6 separate regions of the Homo sapiens genome follow, and all the other regions are linked to region 3. Evidence: promoter capture Hi-C in human tissues and cell types (Jung and others, 2019). All regions are on one chromosome and are shown on one strand. The core of a region is centred on a gene start or on the middle of the fragment in contact, and the rest is flanking DNA. Distances in the headings are between cores, read along the strand shown.

What was found. Contacts are between HindIII fragments. The study calls those that stand out against the background at their distance.
Region 1: a fragment that was not itself captured here is called in contact with the fragment with the promoter of SMPD3 in region 3 in 1 of the 25 tissues and cell types used here (adrenal gland).
Region 2: a fragment that was not itself captured here is called in contact with the fragment with the promoter of SMPD3 in region 3 in 2 of the 25 tissues and cell types used here (heart left ventricle and pancreas).
Region 4: a fragment that was not itself captured here is called in contact with the fragment with the promoter of SMPD3 in region 3 in 2 of the 25 tissues and cell types used here (IMR-90 fibroblasts and lymphoblastoid cells).
Region 5: a fragment that was not itself captured here is called in contact with the fragment with the promoter of SMPD3 in region 3 in 1 of the 25 tissues and cell types used here (H1 embryonic stem cells).
Region 6: a contact is called between a fragment that was not itself captured here and the fragment with the promoter of SMPD3 in region 3, in 1 of the 25 tissues and cell types used here (liver).

The regions. Positions count from the first base shown.
Region 1 is chr16:68,755,817-68,759,394 of GRCh38, reverse strand. All of the region lies in intron 2 of CDH1 (cadherin 1), which reads right to left. Among named protein-coding and RNA genes, the nearest start is that of CDH1, 20 kb to the right of the region's middle. RefSeq lists cis regulatory regions at 586, 2,067, 2,796 and enhancers at 514-658, 1,901-1,950, 1,995-2,139, 2,631-2,730, 2,724-2,868. The HindIII fragment of the contact is 6,946 bases long and covers 1-3,578 here.
Region 2 is chr16:68,927,947-68,931,211 of GRCh38, reverse strand. TANGO6 (transport and golgi organization 6 homolog) reads right to left here. Exons shown (of 18, transcript NM_024562.2): 13 at 3,129-3,265; 14 at 917-974. Among named protein-coding and RNA genes, the nearest start is that of TANGO6, 86 kb to the right of the region's middle. The HindIII fragment of the contact is 4,152 bases long and covers 1-3,265 here.
Region 3 is chr16:68,447,118-68,450,271 of GRCh38, reverse strand. SMPD3 (sphingomyelin phosphodiesterase 3) reads left to right here and starts at 1,764. Exons shown (of 9, transcript NM_018667.4): 1 at 1,764-1,919. It overlaps LOC124903705 (a long non-coding RNA gene), which reads right to left and starts at 1,432. Exons shown (of 2, transcript XR_007065097.1): 1 at 1,206-1,432; 2 at 1-1,107. RefSeq lists an enhancer at 1,397-1,446 and a silencer at 1,547-2,066. The HindIII fragment of the contact is 13,014 bases long and covers 1-3,154 here.
Region 4 is chr16:68,949,490-68,952,845 of GRCh38, reverse strand. All of the region lies in intron 14 of TANGO6 (transport and golgi organization 6 homolog), which reads right to left. Among named protein-coding and RNA genes, the nearest start is that of TANGO6, 110 kb to the right of the region's middle. The HindIII fragment of the contact is 4,454 bases long and covers 1-3,356 here.
Region 5 is chr16:68,804,824-68,807,955 of GRCh38, reverse strand. All of the region lies in intron 3 of CDH1 (cadherin 1), which reads right to left. Among named protein-coding and RNA genes, the nearest start is that of TANGO6, 37 kb to the left of the region's middle. The HindIII fragment of the contact is 4,088 bases long and covers 1-3,132 here.
Region 6 is chr16:68,786,828-68,790,148 of GRCh38, reverse strand. The region is part of intron 2 of CDH1 (cadherin 1); the gene reads right to left. Among named protein-coding and RNA genes, the nearest start is that of CDH1, 51 kb to the right of the region's middle. RefSeq lists an enhancer at 3,262-3,321. The HindIII fragment of the contact is 3,553 bases long and covers 21-3,321 here.

The DNA.
Region 1 (3,578 bases), core at 1,016-3,515, 310 kb before region 3:
AATCAATAAATGAATGCAACGACTATTGTGGTCATTGTATAACAATACTATTATTATTGGTAGAGATGGGGGTCTTGCTATGTTGCCCAGGCTGGTCTTGAACTCTTGGGCTCAAGCGATTCTCCTGCCTTGGCCTCCCAAAGTGTTGGGATAACAGGCATGAGCCACTGTGCCCCCTGTAATCCCACCACTTGTCGGAGGCTGAGGCAGGAGGATTGCCCGAGCCGAGGAGTTTGAGACCAACCTGGGCAACACAGTGAGACCTTGTATTTTTCAAAATAAATTAATTAAATGTAATTAGCTGGGCACGGTGGCTCACACCTGTAATCCCAACACTTTGAGAGGGCTAGAGGGGCAGATCATCTGAGGTCAGGAGTTTGAGACCAGCCTGACCAACATGGTGAAACCCCATCTCTCTAAAAATAGAAAAAATTAGCCAGGCATGGTGGCAGGCGCCTATAATCCCAGCTACTCAGAAGGCTGAGGCAGGAGAATTGCTTGAACCCGGGAGGCGGAAGTTGCAGTGAGCCGAGATGGCACCAGTCTGGGCAACAGAGCAAGACTCCATCTCAAAAAAAAAAAAAATTGCACTCAAATGGATGTTGGGTCAAAGGAGCGTCTTATTCTTTAGGAGGTCAAGAGCAAAGTGATAAGGGGGTATCACTCTTCCTCATACTCAATCCTCTGTGGCTCCTTTGACACTTACACTACCCGCCCCCCGCCCCATGCTTTTTCACTCCCTTGACACAAGTCTAAAGCAGAAACATCTAATGAGAAAAACTAATTTGTTTTTTTAGAGATCGATTCTTGAGACATTGACCAGGTTGGAGAGCAGTAACTATTCACGGGCACAATCAGCATGCACTGCAGCCTCGAAACTCCCAGGCTCAAGTGATCCTCCTGCCTCAACCTCCCAAGTAGCTAGGACTACAGATGTGTACCACGGAGCCCAGCCAATAAAAACTAAATGAAGAGTGGTTGCTACGTACCAGGCACTGGAAGCACTTCGCACATGCTAACTCATTGAATCCTCATTGCAATCCTTTGTGGTAGGGGCTATGTTTATCCCCTTTGTACAGGTGAGGGGACTGAGGCACAGAAAGATTAAGAAACTGGCCCTAGGGAATTCCCATTTGGGTCTCTCTCTCTCTCTCTCTCTCAAAAAAAAAAAAAAAAAAAAAAAAAAAGAAATAAAAAGAAGCCTACCCTAGGCAAAATGGGGTGGGGTTGGGATAGAGGGGAGGGACACAAAAAAATTTGAAAAAAAAGAAAGAAACTTGCAGGCCAGTGCAGCAACTCACATCCGTAATCCCAGCACTTTGGGAGGCTGAGGCGGGCAGATGGCTTGAGCTCAGGAGTTCAAAACCAGCCTGGGCAACATGGCAAAACCTCGTCTCTACAAAAAATACAAAAAAAAAAAAAAAAAAGATTAGCCTGGAGTGGTGGCATGCACCTGTAGTCCCAGCTACTTGGGAGGCTGAGGTGGGAGGATGGGGATGACTTGAGCCCAGGAGGCAGAGGTTGCAGTGAGCCAAAATTGTACCACTCCACTCCAGCCTGGGTGACAGAAAAAGGCCCTGTCTCAAAAAAAAGAAAGAAAGAAAGGAAGGAAGGAAGGAAGGAAGGAGAGAGAGAGAAAGAAAAAGAGAGAGAGAAAGAAAGAAAGAGAAAGAAACTTGCCCAAAATCACAGGAAAAGTAAGGGTCCAGTTGGGATTGGAATCCAGGCAATCCTGCTGCATTCCACCCTCCCAGTTCATCTTCTCTAAGAGAAGCTCATAGGCTAAAAGAGAAATAAATGCTGAAGAGTCAAATCTCTGTCAAAACCAGAAATGAAACCTCACATCTGGCAAGTAAAATGTGGTTTCCTAGGTTCAACAGCTTCCCAGGTATTTAAACACTCCCATGGTGGAAGTGAGAGGATTAGCAGAAAGAAGAATGAAAAATCATAACCAAATTACAAAGCCCAAAGAAAAATAAGTACAACTTACAGGAAGTTTCAAAATCAAAAACTCAGCTGGTTGCCATGGCTCACACCTGTAATCCCAGCACTTTGGGAGGCCAAGGTGGGCGGATCACTTGAGGTCAGGACCAGCCTGGCCAACATGGTGAAACCCTGTCTCTACTAAAAATACAAAAATTAGCCGGGCATGGTGGCGCTGGCCTATAATCCCAGCTACTCGGGAGGCTGAGGAAGGAGAATAGCTTGAACCTGGGAGGTGGAGGTTGCAGTGAGCTGAGACTCCAACACTGCGCTCCAGCCTGGGTGACAGAGCAAGACTCTGTCTCAAAACAAAACAAAACAAAAATCAGAGACTCAAAATACAGCTCTGAAACATCCAAAAACCTCAAGGAGTAGAAGAGGGCTTTGTTTTGTTTTGTTTTTTGTTTTTGAGAGAGCGTCTCGCTCTGTCACCCAAGCTGGAGTGCAGTGGTGCAAAACGCAGCTCACTGCAGCCTTAACCTCCTGGACTCAAGGGATCTACCTGCCTCAGCCTCCCATGAAGCTGGGATCACAGGCACACGCCACCATGCCTGGGTAATTGTTTTTGTATGTAGAGACAGGGTTTCCCTTTGTTGCCCAATCTGGTCTCCAACTTCTGGGCTCAAGCAATCCTCCCACTTTGGCCTCCCGAAGTGCTGGATTACAGGCATGAGCTACCGCACCCGGCCTCTTTTTAAATGCAGACTTGAGACAAGAAGGCAAAAGTTACAAGAAATACAACCACAAATTCTATTTTCTCCAGAAAATTTAGTCATGATTACAAGCCTGGGAGTTAGGTGGTAATGAAACCAGCCACATGAACGTCACCAAGCAGCTGTTATTTCTCCAAAACCTTTTAGCACGAAGCTAACAGAGACGAGATCTAGGGCTAGTATCTCCTGGGACTTATGAGTAAGAGCCGGCACCTAGAGTACCTGTCACTATAGAGGGTGATGTCACCGCTGATTCAACCTGATATTGAAAAACCTTACCAGGAGAGGCCTCTCAATGTCGGTGACTCAGGGCCCCACCCCACCTGTTCATAAAGTAAGTGCCCAGGTGTTTGCCTCACTGCTTATTCAAGGGATGATGTTTTCCAATAGGAAAGCCACAACTCTCCCCACCAACAAGTTGGTCATCTTGTTCCCTTTTTCAAACACTCCCACATAGTTGTGGTGAAGAATTTGTTGGGGAGGAAGCCTCGTACTGAAGGTGAGATTCCAAAGTAAGTACCAGGTCCTAGGAACACTCGTATACATGCACAAAAAAAAAAAAAAAATATGCCCTAAATGATGCCTGTTTAGAAAATATCATCCCTCTGCAGGAAGAATCTTTAGAAAACTCGGCTAGGCACAGTGGCTCATTCATGCCTGTAATCCCAGCACTTTGGGAGGCCGAGGAGGGCTTATCACCTAAGGTCAGGAGTTGGAGACCAGCCTGGCCAACATGGTGAAACCCCGTCTCTACGAAAAATACAAAAAGTAGCCAGGTGTGGTGGCACATGCCTGTAATCCCAGCTACACCGGAGGCTGAGGTGGGAGAATCGCTTGAACCCGGGAGGCAGAGGTTGCAATGAGCCGAGATCAGGCCACTGC
Region 2 (3,265 bases), core at 348-2,847, 480 kb before region 3:
TGGTCTGTTGACTGTACCTCGCTGATGGAGCCAAGGGAAACTGAGTTAACTCTGACCTCACCATGTCTGCTTCTGGACCTTTTGGGAAGGGTGCCTTATTCTCTACATCCTCTCTAGATTTGGAGCCCACAAGTTAAAGGGGATGTGGAGAACAACAAAGAACCATAAAAAGAGAAATAAAGTTACTGCAAAAAATTTTTTGATAAGAAAATATTTAATACCCTGAGTTCTTTTAGCTTAACGAGAGAGCAAAGGTGCATATAGACAGTAGTTGAGGCTGGGCGTGGTGGCTCACGCCTGTAATCCCAGCACTTTGGAAGGCCAAGGTGGGTGGATCACTGGAGGTCAGGAGTTCGAGTCCAGCCTGACTAACATGGTGAAACCTTGTCTCTACTAAAAATATAAAAAATTAGCTGGGCGTGGTGGCGGGCACCTGTAATCCCAGCTACTTGGGAGGCTGAGGCAGGAGAATCACTTGAACCCGGGAGGCAGAGGTTGCAGTGAGCTGAGATCACACCACCGCACTCCAGCCTGGGTGACAGAGCGAGACTCTGTCTCAAAAAAAAAAAAAAAAAAGACAGTAGCCGACTAACATAAAAGGTTAATGTGATAAGAGTTCATGTGTGAGTCATTCTTTACCTCCTTGAATTAGAGGAAATACGATTTAATCTACAGAATATGTAAACATTAATAAAAACTTCCTCATCATTATGAGACACTGAAACTCTATAGGGACTCTTTGGAAACCCTTCAGGAATATTATTATTATGACTTAAAGTGTCCTAGCTAGGAGGCAGGAAGACGGACAAAATGACCAGTAGTCTCCTGGCCCTAGGACTTTAGAGATTTTGTGCAAATAAACATGATACAGTCTCTGGTCCACATACTTAAAGTCCTTTAACCAGGACTGACTTACCCTGAATTGCAGATAGATATACAAAAGTGTCTTCATGTTCCAAGTTTTCCAAGAATATCTGGAACCACAAAATACAGCAGTGATAAGATTTACAAAGAACAAGGAAGATTTAAGAGGCTCCCTTATCAGCAGCTCAAAGGAGTAAATGCTTCGCTTCTTGTTTTTCTTGGGTAGAAACTGGTCTGACAGAGTTTTGTGGGGGAAATGGCATATATGCTTAAGTCTCATTTTTATAACCATTAAAAAAGTATAGAGACTGGGGGAGATACTTGTATTCTTCCAGCAGTAGTCCTGGAAACCGATGGAAGAACAATCCTCAACATTTTTCCATGACAGCCATGGTGAATAACATTCTCACATATGGCATGACAGACTACGGGGTGTGACACACAAGAGACAAGGTTTGGGGTTATGTGCAATGGATGGCACATTTGCTGCAATTTGATCCTTTTCTCTTGTACTCACAAAGCATATGGAAGTGCAAGTGAGATAGAGATGTTATTATTGAGATAACTTTGAATCTGTTCTAATTTATTTTTGAAAATCTTGTAAATTTCAGCACTTTAATTGATATTAGTAACAAATTACTCTCAAAATATCTTACAATTTAGGAACCTATCAGGGGTATCAACTACAGTGAGTACAGCTTATCTGGAAGATATTACATGATATGTTAGGTTTAGGCCCCAACATGAGAGCCAGAGAAAGGAAGACGGAAGTGTCTGCTCCATATATAATGCTGTGTTCTTCGTTGGCACAGTAATTCTTGACATCAACTTGATGCTGCTGGTCTCTACATGTGAAGTATGTACGGAGAGCCTAAAATTACCCCAGTTAGGAAGACGGCCAGTTTTGAAGGTAGGGAATCTTTTATGGAGTAAGCAAGGGAAGCTTAATTTAGGGTAATGGCCATGGAAATAAAGAGGATAAGATACATTTGAAAGACTTCTTTGAAAAAAGAATTGACAGGACTTGGTGACCAATTATGTACAGCAGAAGAAGGTTTAATTAAGCTAAAAAAAATTCCAAGATGTTCATTGAATTCACCTTCAAATAGGTGTATAAAAGGATATTTAAGGCCAGGCGCGGTGGCTCATGCCTGTAATCCCAGCACTTTGGGAGGCCGAGGCAGGTGAATCACTTGATGTGAGGAGTTCAACACCAGCTTGGCTAACATGGTGAAACCTCATCTCAACTAAACGTACAAAAATTAGCTGGGTGTGTTGGTGGGCACCTGTAATCCCAGCTACTTGGGAGGCTGAGGCAGAAGAATCACTTGAACCCAGGAGGTGGAAATTGCAGTGAGCTGAGATCGCACCACTGCACTCCAGCCTGGGCGACGGAGCGAGACCCTGTCTCAAAAAAACAAAACAAAACAAAACAAAAAACAGCTATTTCACCACGATGAAGGGAGAGAAGAGGGGAGGAGACCCAGTTTTGCCCAACGCCCCACTAAAGATGCCCAGAGAAAACAGGTGGCTTATCTGGGCTGGGTCACAGTGTTGAAGCAGACCTATTTATCACAAAAGGTACTTTCCCATCTCTGGGAATTTGTTCAAGCTATCCCACCCCTCTTTCATCTGCTCAAACTTTACTAGTTTGTTATGGCCATATTAAGGCCTACATCCTCCAGAAGATTTCAACTTTCTCTTTTTCCTGACTGCCCACAGCATTTCTTGCATGCAAAAATTTTGAAGGATGGGTGTGGTGGCTCACGCCTGTAATCCCAGCACTTTGGGAGGCCGAGGCAGGTGGATCACGAGGTCAGGAGATCGAGACCATCCTGGCTAACATGGTGCCCGTCTCTACTAAAAATACAAAAAATTAGCCGGGGGTGGTGGCAGACACCTGTAGTCCCAGCTACTCGGGAGGCTGAGGCAGGAGAATGGTGTGAACCCAGAAGGCGGAGCTTGCAGTGAGCCGAGATTGCACCACTGCACTCCAGCCTGGGGGACAGAGCGAGATTCCATCTCAAAAAAAAAAAAAAAAAAAAAAAATTGGCACTCAGTTCATATTCATTTGAGGAGTTTAAGTCTTTCCTGTGTCTAAATAAATCTTTCCTGTGTCTAAGTGTTGCCTCCTCACAAAATTCACAAATTTCTGGAGGGTGGTCCAGAACAGCACTTGACACATAGTCCAGGCTCCAAAAATACTTGAGTTGAATGAATGCCCCACCCTGTGCCCATGTGTCTTTACAGTGTGTTCTACTCACCTTGAGAAGCTTCTCTTGCATCTCAAGGGCTTTTGCTTCTCTCTGCTCTATCCAGTGGGAAAGAGTACGCAGGGCAGCAGCCCGTGTTGGAATTTGAGGGTCATAAGCTGACAAAAGAACCTCTTGGAGCTGTTCTG
Region 3 (3,154 bases), core at 515-3,014:
CAGGGAGAACTGACAGGAATAATAGGCATGGGTCTATCAATCTCTAGCATCATAGGATTAAAAGGGTACTCAAAGCATTCAGGTAAAATCCCAACCCACTGTACAAATGAAATAAACATTTCTTCAAGGGGGCGGCATGCCTCTAACTGAACACCTCCAGCAATGAGAAATGCCCAACTTTAGGAAATCAGAGTTTTGGAGGTGTATGTGAATGAGGTTCCTTTATTTTCTTTTTTTTAATTTTATTCTTTTTCTCTTTTTTTTTTTTTTTTTTTGAGACAGGGTCTCACTCTGTTGTCCAGGCTGGAGTGTAGTGGTGCAATCTCGACTCACTGCAACCTCCACCTCCCGGGGTTCAAGCGATTCTCCCGCCTCAGCCTCCTGAATAGCTGGGATTACAGGCACGTGCCACCACGCCCAGCTAATTTTTGTATTTTTAGTAGAGACTGGGTTTCACCATTTTGGTCAGACTTGTCTCGAACTCCTGACCTAGTGATCCACCTGCCTCGGCCTCCCAAAGTTCTGGGATTACAGGCGTGAGCCACCACGCCCGGCCCAATTCATTTTCAATTCAACAAATATCTATATTTATATCTCAATAGCTAGTGAGTGCCTACTACGTGCCAGATACTAGACACTGGACTGTAAGTATGAATAATATAGACATGGCCCCTCCCCTGTGGATCTTATAATGAGGAAGACGAGCACATAAACATGCAAGTAGAACAGGGGAAGTAGAGGGTGCTGCTCAAACACAGGGTGGGGCACTCAACAGACAGCCCAGCATCTAGATGTCTTCACAAAACAGGCAATGTCTAGGCTGGGGCTTGCCGACGAGTTAGCTGAGGGCAGGGTGGAGAGGCCCAAGGGAGTAGGAGGCTTCCCAGCTTCCAAAGAAGTTAAGAGTGTTGCAAAAAAGTGGAGTCCAGATCTTGAAGGGGAGAGTGGGCTTAGGTCCGGGGGCATGTGAAGCGCCCTCCGTCTGCTGCGCTGGGGGAGATGCTGCGGTATCCTGGAGTGGTGTGAAGGAGGCCAGGACCTGCGATGGGAAGACGGAGACGGGAAGGCCCTGGTGGCCCAAGGGATGACCAAAAGTGAAGCGCTCCTCTATGACAAGATTGAGACAAAAATAAAGGAATAAAGTTCTGAATGCGGTGGGAGAGTCTCCTCCGTCCTCCCTCACCTTTGCTGGGCAGGAACCAAACCTGCTTGCCCTCGGTTTGCCCCATCACCGACGGGTGTGGTCGGGGGCACAGCTCTTCGCCCTTCTTCTCAGATAGGAAAACTGAGGCCCAGGGTCCTGAGGCAGAAATCAAGGTTTTCTCCTCGAAATGGCCTCCCAAGAGGCTGCCCGGGGTCTCACACGATCCTTCGAGGGTCCTGCGGCCTGCCCCACGCCTCCGCCAGCCATCCTCGGCTGGTCGTCTTTGCTATGGAAACGGTCCTCCCGCCCTGCTCCGCGCCTCCGTGTCTTCAGTGCACTCTGGGAAATGCAGTCCCGCTCTGTTTGCCTACCCGCGGCGTGAGCCCACTCCGCGTCCTTAAAGAACTATAAGTCCCAGAAGGCTGTGCGAAACTCCGCCGGTCTCTGGGGGATGTGGTCTTGAAGGAGAGACCCAGGAACCTGCGGGCGGGGCCGGAGGGAGAGGGGAGGACGCCCCCAATGGGCAGACTCCTGGGCGGGGTCCGGGTCACCATTGGCTCCGGCGGCGCGAGGGAGGCGGGGTCAGAGGAATGAAGCGCGGAGCTGTTCGCCGCTCCAGGTGCTGAGTCTGAGGGAGGCTCCGGACCCGAGAGCCGCGAGAGCCGCCGCCGCTGCGGCCGCCGCCAGATCTGCGGCCGGGAGCCCGGGCTGTGAGGAGCCGGGAGGAGCGGGGTGCGCTGCCGGGCGCTGACCGCCCTCCCGCCCGCCGTCAGAGGTCAGTGCTGCTGAATTCGCTTTTGTTTTCTTGGGGAGCGGGCGAACCGAGGCGTGAGGGGCTGGGGAGTTGACGGGACGTGTTCTCGTTGCTCTCAGGACCGCGGGTCCCGGACAGCCGCCGACTGACTAGGGGCCTCCCGTGGCCGGGCGCCGGAGGTCGGAGCAGCTTGGGTTAGTTTTCGTTTTATCATGGAGAAGGCTCTTGGGTATGAGGGGCGAGGGCTGGGGGTCACCCCCACCCCCCATCTCTCCTGGGAGAGCGAGGAGGCTTGGACCCTCCCTCCCGCTGTGCCTGGCGACGGGGCTGCTCGGATTACTCAGGACGGGAGGATGAGGTGTTGTGGGATGAAGGGACTCGAGGCAGGGGGACCCCTCCCCGCAACACTTCGGCTGCTCGAGGTTACAAAGGAGTCTGGTGGTGATGGATGAGATCGCGGACCGCTCCCCTAGCCCAGACCCTCCCAGGGGTATTCAGGAAGGGCTGCTTGGGATGCAGGGAAGACCCTTGCCCAGGCCCCTTCCTCCACACTCGCCCCCCTCCCTATTCCCCCCTCCTCCCTTGGCCCTAGGGTTTTGTAAAGAGGAGGATCGAGGATGTGGAAGAGACAGAGGACTCTTACCCCTCCCACTTGGACCCTCCTAGGTTACTGGTGAAGGGTGGAATTGGAATGTGGCAGGGAAACGCTGGGAGACCCCTCCCCATCCTTCTCGGAGTCGCGGGTGGAGGAAAGCACTGACACTCGGAATCCCCCGCGCTCGGGCCCGCGCCGAGGGTTGGGTGGCCTGGGTGTGAGAGGTAGTGTAGGGGGATGTACGAGGACAGGAGGGACCCCTCCCCACCTCTCCCCACCTGGGCCTTATCTCCCAGGCCCTCCCTACCTGGATCCAGGCCTGGGGCTCTAAGTCGAGACGACCCGCCCTAGCCCACCACGCCCCGGGGACCGAGCCTCTGGCACCGCAGCTGGGGGCCAATCCCAGATGGGCATGTACAGAGCGGGACGGGGCGGGTCTCCCCTCAAGCACTCAAGAGCTCCAGGTAGACGCTACCCCCAACCTCGTGCCCGCGAATCTTTGGGGGCTGCTCCGCTCCGATGCAGGGCGCACCCCAAACCGAGGCTCGGGGACCTGCTTCCAGGACGCGCGGTGGCTGTTCCAAGGCATGGGGCTTTCGCGCTCGGCCCAGGCATCCTCGAGAGGACAAAGCGGCGGTCGCCGCACTGGCAGGCCTGCGCC
Region 4 (3,356 bases), core at 786-3,285, 500 kb before region 3:
AGCAGGTGGACAGAGAGATGACCTAATGAGGTCTTTGGCAGCTCAAGGGGTTGTGATTCATTCCCTGAGGCTCAATTCATTCCCAACCTTCAATCCTCCTCTGGGGCAGGAGAGATACCACAAGGTCAGGAAGCACAAAAGCCTAATGTAAAAATCTAAAAATGTGTTGCCCAAACTGTACAGACACCATTTAAGTTTACCTTCCACCACTGCCAAGTTCTCAACGTGACCTGAGAGGGGGTAATTGATGCTTCATTCAGTTAAAAATTGTAAAGTTATGATTCACCAACAAAAGGAACTATGTCAGTGTTAATAAAAAATATAATTGGGCTTACTAAGTGTGTGAACAGCTTCAAGTATCATCTTAATCACATCTGGTGAGATTAGGAATTTTAATTTGTATTTGAGATGAAGGGTGACATAGGCTGCTTGCTCTTTAGTTGGGGAGGGAAACACAAAAGCAGGGTGCACCTCTAGCTGATACTGCAATAAAGCTCCAGTAAAAACCATGGATTACTTAGAGAGTGTGGGATGCTGTATTTAAGGGGAAGTCTGAAGAGGGACTTGCTGTTTTACTTACAAGCTCTCTCACTACTCCATCCTCCTTAACTTGCCTTCAAATTCCAACTTTACTAGAGAAAGGGTGGCTCCAGGGCAAAATTTAAATCGCTGTTCTGCAGGGAAGGTACTTAGACCTCCTTAATAGCTTGTAAAGTGGACATTTAAGCAACTGACTCTTTACCTGGAGGTATCTCATGTTGCCTTCTTGGTCATGAATCCTGCCTTTGTGACAGCTAGTCTATATGAATAGGAGGTGAGGGACTTTAAAGGAGCCCCAGAAGCCATGAAATTAAGAAGTATTTAATTGCTTCACTGAAAATGTCATGATCCATGGTTCCATGGTTTAATTTTACCATCCGTAAGAGCAGAGGCTGGCCAGGTGTGGTGGCTCACGCCTGTAATCTCAGCACTTTGGGAGGCCGAGGCGGGTGGATCACAAGGTCAGGAGATCGAGACCATCCTAGCTAACACGGTGAAACCTCGTCTCTACTAAAAATACAAAAAATTAGCTGGGCGTGGTGGCGGGTGCCTGTAGTCCCAGCTACTCAGGAGGCTGAGGCAGGAGAATGGTGTGAACCGGGAAGGCAGAGCTTGCAGTGAGCTGAGATCACGCCACTGCACTCTAGCTTAGGCGATAGAGCGAGACTCTGTCTCAAAAAAAAAAAAAAAAAAGAACAGAGGCCATGGTGTTGTGACAAAGGTGAGAAAATGCAATGGAAAAAGGAAGGAAGTACAGAGGCATAAATAAGGGCCTTGGCTTTGGAGTTGAATCCAGCCTCTATTACATACTGGTTGGCCAAGCAGTTGGCCTCTTAGCCCTGGTTTCTTTGTCTGAAAAATGGGAGATGAAGATACTGACTCCTATACCTTGCCTTCATGCCCATTTTGCTCCACTAACAACCTGAACTGCTTCCCTTCTGTTATACTTTATATTTGCCCAACCCCCCCACCCTGCCTTTTTTTTTTGAGACAGGGTCTCTGTCACCCAGGCTGGAGTGCAGTTGTATGATCACAGCTTGCTGCAGTCTTGACCTCTTGGGCTCAAGTGATTCTCCCACTTCAGCCTCCAGAGTAGCTGGGACTATAGGCATGCGCTACCACACCCGGCTAATTTTTAAAATTTTTATAGAGACAGGATTTTGCCATGTTGTCCAGGCTGGTCTTAAACTACTGGGCTCAAGTGATCGTCCACATCGACCTCCCAAAGTGCTGGGATTACAGGCAGCAGCCACAGCACCTGGTCTGGCCCCACTCTTGAACATCTTCCTACCTTTGCTTTTCCCTCAGCTTCAATCCCCTCACACTCATTTGAGTGTCTAAATCCTGCCCACCCATCTTTCATAGTCCTGAGAGCTCCACAAAAAACAACAGTACTGTTCTGAGTTTTTAACGTTATTTTTAAATTTTTTAAATTTACTTTTTTTTTGAGACAGAGTCTTGCTCTATTGCCCAGGCTGGAGTGCAACGGTGCCACATCAGCTCACTGCAACCTCCGCCTCCCAGGCTCAAGCGATTCTCCTGCCTCAGCCTCCTGAGCAGCTGGGATCACAGGTGCCCGCCACCACACCTGGCTAATTTTAGTACTTTTAGTAGAGATGGGGTTTCACCATGTTGGCCAAGCTGGTCTCGAACTCCTGAACTCGTGATCGACCCACCTCAGCCTCCCAAAGTGCTGGGACTACAGGTGTGAGCCACCGCGCCCATCCTAAATTTTTTTTTTAAAACAGAGTCTCGCTCTGTCGCCCAGGCTGGAATACAGTGGCTCGATCTCGGCTCACTGCAACCTCCGCCTCCCAGGTTCAAGCGATTCTCCTGCCTCAGCCTCCAGAGTAGCTGGGATTATAGGAACCCATACTATGCCCAGCTAATTTCGTATTTTTCGTAGAGATGGGGTTTCACCATGTAGGACCAGGCTGGTTTCAAACTCCTGACCTCAGGTGATCTGCTTGCCTCGGCCTCCCAAAGTGTTGGGATTACAGGCATGAGCCACCACGTGTGGCCTTTAATTTTTTTAAGTGTACAATTCAGTTAGTTTTGGTATATTTACCAGGCTGTGCAATAATCCCCACTATCTAATTCCAAAACATTTTCATCTCCTCACAAAGAAACCTCATATCCATTATCAGTCACTCCTTACTCCTCCATCCCCCACATCCTCTGACAACTATTACTCTACTTTCTGAATTTATACATTTGTCTGTTTTGGACATTTCATTCATATAGGAATCATACAACACATGGCCTTTTGTGTCTGGCTTCTTTTCCTTACCATATTTTCAAATTCATTCATGTTGCAGTATGAATCAATAGTTCATTCCTTTTTACTGCCAAATAATATTCCACTGTGTACATACATCAGATGTTATGAATCCATTCATCAGGCGGTAGATATTAATATGTATGTTGTTTCAATTTTTCAGCTATTATAAATAATGCCTATATATATATATAAATATAAACTTTTGTGTGGACATATGTTTTCATTTCTCATGGGTATATACCTAGGAGTGGAACTGATAGGTCACATGATAACCATGTTTAACCTTTTGAAAATGGCCAGACTATTTTTCAAAGCAACTGTACCATTTTACATTTCTACCGGCAACATTTCTTCACATCCTCATAATTTGTATTATTTTAAAGTAAGCTTTTTTTTTTTTTCTTTGAGACAGAGTTTCGCTCATCTCCCAAGCTAAAGTGCAATGGTGCAATCTCGGCTCACTGCAACCTCTGCTTCCCGGGTTCAAGCGATTCTCCTGCCTCAGCCTCCCAAGTAGCTGGGATTACAGGCACTG
Region 5 (3,132 bases), core at 388-2,887, 360 kb before region 3:
GGACTACAGGTGTGCACCACCATGGCTGACTAATTTTTGTATTTTTAGTAGACGTAGGGCTTTGCCATGTTACCCAGGCTGGTCTCGAACTTGTAAGCTTAAGCAATGTGGCCTCCCAAAATGCTGGGATTACAGGCATGAGCCACCACACCCAGCCCATAATATAATTTTTAACAGCAACATTATACTCTGATGATTTAATATCAGAGCTTACTCAACAACTGAATATTTGGGTTTTCGATTTCTTTTCTTTTCTTTTTTTAAATAGAGACAGGGTCTTGCTCTGTCACCCAGGCTGGAGTGCAGTGAAGTGATCAAAGCTCACTGCAGCCTTGAACTCCTGAGCTCAGGCAAGCCTCTGACCTCAGCCTACCAAGTAGCTGGAACTACAGGCATCCACCACCATGCACCACCATGTGCACCTAATTTTTTAAATTTTTTAAATTTTTTTAGAGGCAGGGTCTTGCCATCTTGCCCAGACTGGTCTCGAACTCCTGGGCTCAAGCGATTCTCCTGCTTTGGCTTCCCAATTTGCTGGGATTACAGGTGTGAGTCACCGCACCCAGCCTCTTTTATATTTTTCTTGGGGACACAGGTCCTCAACGTGGAGTTATCCCAAAACAAGTAGATTTTGAGAACTTGTACTAAGAACTACTTTGTGATCAATATAAATCTCTTCATCTCACTGTATCATTATGTCTATATGGTTTCCATTTGTTCTAACAGAAGCTGTTGGGATGGAAGCCAAAAACACCCTTTGAGACTTGTATTGAACAGTTTTCATATGCAATAAAGATAACTTTATGCACATGCAGGGAAATAAGAGAGTTGAAAATGGAAGGAAAATATTTGCCAAATTGTTTAAGTGTTTTAAGGTGATTACTGGTAACACAGTAAAGTTTCCAGGGGAAAATTCCATCTCTCACCCTCCACATAAAAACTCACAGTCACTGATCACTGCTTGCCAAGTTTGAGTTCAGCTCTATTTTCTGGCTTTAAGATTGAAGATGCACCAGATACATGTGAGATATGACCAGGTATCATCACAGAGCCCTTCCCCAATGCTGCACACTGGCCACATGTGCACACATGCGCACACACCTATGCTCTCTGCCCTCTACATCCTGTGTTTGTCTCCTAGAGAGGCAGCCCAGCCTGCGCCAAGGGCAGGCTCTGGAGCTAGACTGCCTGGCTTTGAATCCTCATGACAGTACCTCCTTGCCCCAGGCAGATATTACTTAATTTCTCTGTATTACAGCTTCCTAATGTCTGAAATGGGGATAATATTAGAACCTATCTCATATAATTCTTGGAAGGATTAAATGAGATGCTGGTATTGCACATTTAAAGCACTGTGAATACTGCCTGAAACATAGTAAGTGCTCAATAAAGGTAATGATGGAGATGATGGTTGGACTGGTTGGAAAACACTGAGTTATGGTTTTATTGAGATTTGACCCCAGCACATGAACAAAATAAAAAACTGACCATCATCACTGTATCCTGGGCCAGGCGTGGTGGCTCACACCTGTAATCCCAGCACTTTGGGAGGCTAAGGCAGGCAGATCACTTGAGGTCAGGAGTTTGGGATCAGCTTGGCCAACGTGCCAAAACCCTGCCTCTACTAAAAATACAAAAATTAGCCGGGCATGGTGGCACACACGGGGTCCCAACTACTTGGGAGGCTGAGGCGTGAGAATTGCTTGAACCCGGGAGGCAGAGGTTGCAGTGAGCTGAGATCATGCCACTGCACTCCAGCCTGGATGACAGAGAGAGATTCTGTCTCAAAAATAAATAAATAAATAAATAAATAAATAAATAAATAAATAAATATACAAAAATTAGCCAGGCATGGTGGCATGTGCCTGTAATTCAAGCTACTCAGGAGGCTGAGGCAAGAAAATAGCTTGAATCTGGGAGGCAGAAGTTGTAGTGAGCCGAGATTGTGTCACTGCACTCCAACCTGGGAAACAGAGCGAGACTCTGTCTCAAAAACAAAAACAAAAACCAATCCCAGAAAAACCACTGTATCCTAAGCCTTAAAACAGCCACCTTGGCCAGGCCTGGTGGCTCATGCCTGTAATCCCAGCAGGCTTTTTCCTTTGGGAGGCTGAGGCGGGTGGATCACCTGAGGTGAGCTCAAGACCAGCCTGGCCAACATGGTGAAATCCTGTTTCTACTAATAATACAAAAATTAGCTGGGTGTGGTGGTGCACACCTGTAATCCCAGCTACTCAGAAGGCTGAGGCAGAAGAATTGCTTGAACCCAGGAGGTGGAGGTTGCAGTGAGCTGAGATTGTGCCATTGCACTCTAGCCTGGGTGACAAGAGTGAAACTGCATCTCAAAAAAGAAACAAAAACAAACAAACAAAACAACAACAAAAACTGGCCACCTTGCACAGCCATGGTGAGCACATGGGCACTGATGGATGAATGCAAACCCAGTTATCACAATGAAAGGAAAGGAACATGCATGCCTTGCTGACACCAGGACTGTGGAATATTTTCAGAGAATGAATAATGATGAACACTGTGCTGGCAAAACATCACACTAACATTTTCATGTGTTAAATGAAAGGGAGTCATGCCTGAAAACACTGCACGTGGAAGTGATCCCTCAGAAAAATAGGATACCAGGTGGGGCACGGTGGCTCACGCCTATAATCCCAGCACTTTGGGAGGCCAAGGCAGGTGGACTGCTTGAGGTCAGGAGTTCAAGACCAGCCTGGCCAACATGGTAAAACCCCATCTGTACTAAAAACACAAAAGGAAGGGAAATGGAAGAAGAAGAAAAGAAAAGTAAAAAGAAAAGAAAGGAAGGATGCCAGACTGAGAAAACTCACCCAAATAAGATGAAAGGACTAGAGACTAAGATCTATTCTTACACAAATTTAGAGATTTTGAGCCTGCGCAACAAAGTGAAACCCTATCTCTACAAAAAAAAAAAAAAAAAAAAAAATTAGCTGGGCATGGTGGTGCACCCTGTGGTCCCAGCTACATGGAAGATTGAGGCAGGAGGATTGCTTGAGCCTGGGAGGTCAAGGCTGCAGTGAGCTGTGTTCCCACCACTGCACTCCAGCCTGGGTGACAGAGCAAGACTCTGTCTCCAAAAAAAAAAAAAAAAAAAAAAAG
Region 6 (3,321 bases), core at 548-3,047, 340 kb before region 3:
TGCACCAAAATGCCTCCTAACATCATTTCCATTCAGGGTCTAATGTGCTGCACAGAGACTTTCCTGGGTTTTTTGTTTTTGTTTTTGTTTTTGAGATGGAGTTTTGCTCTTGTTGCCCAGGCTGGAGTGCAATGGTGTGATCTTGGCTCACGGCAACCTCTGCCTCCCGGGTTCAAGTGATTCTCCTGCCTCAGCCTCCCGAGTAGATGGGATTACAGGCATGCGCCACCATGCCCGGTTAATTTTGTAGTTTTAGAGATGGGGTTTCTCCATGTTGGTCGGGCAGGTCTCGAACTCCCAACATCATGTGATCCGCCCGCCTCAGCCTCCCAAAGTGCTGGGATTACAGGCATGAGCCACCGGGCCCAGCCTCCTGGGGCACTTTTTAAAAATACTCAGCCAGGGCCCCTGCCTCAGACTAACTGAATCCAGATGTCCAGGGCTGGGGCAGTAGCAACTAAGGAGTGAGGGATTTCTTCTGGAGGTGATGAAAATGTTATGAAATTGATTGTGGTGACGCTTGCTTAAGTCTGTGACTATAAGGGAAACTGTTAAATTCTACACTTTAAATGGTGTAATATATGCTATGTGGATTATGTTTCGATAAAGCTGTTACAAAAAAAAAAAAAAGATGAGCCAATCGCACAAAGTATTCACAAGCCCATCCTTGCAGAGAGACCACTGCTAACACCTGATATGTGTCCTTCAGATCCTGGTCTATATCCCTTTCCTAATTCATTTACTCCCTTGTCCTGCATCCCTTTACATCCTGTTCTCCAAAATTAGGTTCTGGACATTATTCTATTTTTAAACACCTGGCCAGGTGCGGTGGCTCACACCTATAATCCCAGCACTTTGGGGAGGCTGAAGTGGGCGGATCACTTGAGTCCAAGTCCCGTCAAGACCAGCCTGGGCAACATGGGGAGAGCCCATCTCTACAAAAAATACAAAAAAAAATTAGCTGGGCATGGTGGCATGCACCTGTAGTCCCCATTATTTGGGAGGGCTGAGGTAGGAGGATCACTTGAGCTGGGGACGTCAAGGCTGCAGAGAATCATGTTCGGGCCACTGCACTCCAGCTTGGGTGACACAGTGAGAACGGATCTTCCTGTCCAACTTTCTTTTATTTATTCATTCATTTTTTGAGACAGAGTCTTGCTCTGTCACCCAGGCTGGAGTGCAGTGGCATGACCTCAGATTACCGCAACCTCCGCCTCCTGCGTTCAAGTGACTCTCCTGCCTCAGCCTCCCAAGCAGCTGGGATTACAGGTGCCCGCCACCATACCCAGCTAATTTTTGTTTTTTGTTTTTTTTAGGAGAGATGGGGTTTCTCCATGTTGGTCAGGCTGGTCTTGAACTCCTGATCTTGTGATCCACCCGTCTCGGCCTCCAAAAGTGTTGAGATTACAGGCGTGAGCCACCATGCCCAGCCCCAACTTTCTTCTTATTTCACATTTACCCATTTAAAAAAATGTGTAAATGTGGCTTATATACAGTCAACCCAAAAAGTAATTAGGATGGGTAAAATATGGTATAGCTACTCAGCAATAAAAAGGATCAAACATCACAAAACGCAGTAGCATAGATGAACCTTAAAAGCATTACACCGAGTGAAAGAAGCTGTTCACCAAAGTACACAGTTCATATGAAAAATCTAGAAAACTAGAGACAAAAAGCAGATCAAGGGTTGTCTGGAGCTGAGTTAGGCTTGACTACCAATAGGCCCAAGGGAACTTGGGAGGTGGTGGAAGTATTCTAAAACTGGATTGTGATGACAGCTCAACAGCTGTGTACGTTTATAAAAATTATCTAACTGTACACTTACAGTGGGTAAATTGTGTGGTATGTAAATTAAATCTCAATGAACCAGTAAGAAATATATAGCTATTAGGGTCTCTTGAGGAATACCCCATCAGTCAAAGTCCTATGGTTCAAAAATGAAAGAATCCAGGCACCCAAAAATGCCAAGGTTATGAAAAAGTGCAGAGAAGAGAAGCCATAAACAATTCTTAATTAACAGTAGGCTGGGTGCGGTGGCTCACACCTGTAATCCCAGCACTTTGGGAGGCCAAGGAGGGCGAATCACTTGAGGTCAGGAGTTTAAGACAGGCCTGGCCAACATGGTGAAACCTCGTCTCTACTAAAAATACAAAAAATTAGCGGGGCGTGGTGGCACATGCCTATAATCCCAGCTATTCAGGAGGCTGAGGCAGGAGAATTGCTTGAACCCAGGAGGCGGAGGTTGCGGTGAGCCAAGATCATGCCATTGTACTCCAGCCTGGGCAACAAGAGTGAAACTGTCTCAAAAAAAAAAAAAAAAAAATTAGCCGGGCGTGGTGGTGGGTGTCTATAATCCCAGCTACTTGGGAGGCTGAAGTGGGAGAACTGCTTGAACCCAGGAGGCAGAGGTTGCAGTGAGCTGAGATTGCACCATTGCACTCCAGCCTGGATGATAAAGCAAGACTCTATCTCCAAAAAACAAAACAAAACAAAACAATAGTTATAGGCTGGGCATGGTGGTTCACACCTGTAATCCCAGCACTTTGGGAGGCTGAGGTGGGAGGATCACTTGAGGCCAGGAGTTTGAGACCAGCCTGGGCAACATAGTAGGATCCCATCTCTATTTAAAAAAAAAAAAAATCAACAACTAAAAACTGAAAACAAAAAATCTTTTTGAGAGTAAATATTCACTATGACAGTCATTACGTGTGGGCACTGTGAACTTTACATTGACTCCTATGTTGCTGTGAGGCAGGTAGGGGTTTTTAACCCCCTTAATGCTGATGAGCAACTGAGGCGAAAGGCTTAAGTCATTTGCTCAAGGTCAGGGCCTTGTCAAGGTCACAGAGCAGGTCAGCCTCTGAAGGAACATTCGCCCCAGAACCAGCCAGCACCAAAGCTTCTGTTCTTCAGCACTAGGCTTGCGGAGGGAGAGAAATTCCAGGGGTAGTTAACAGCAATGTGGGATGGGTAAAAGTAACCACAGATTTATTCTCTATAAAAAACACAACCCAGATATAAACACGCATCAATCTAGGGCCACATTTTCCAAGCACTGGCTGACACCAAAATGTGCTGAATCTGGCTGCAAAAACACAGGAAAGCCGTTGTGGAATTCAGAACCTTTGAATCATTCAATAACTCAAGAACAAGATCTGGAAACCTTCTACAAAGAATGAATGTGAGGCTTGCACTACTTTCAAATGTGGGCTGTGCTGGAAAGGCTCGGACCCTCTGCCTCTGACCTTTGGAACAAAACTCAAACAGCCCAAGAGAACAGCTGGGAGCCAACACTGCGAAGTGAGGCATTTCCCACAGTCT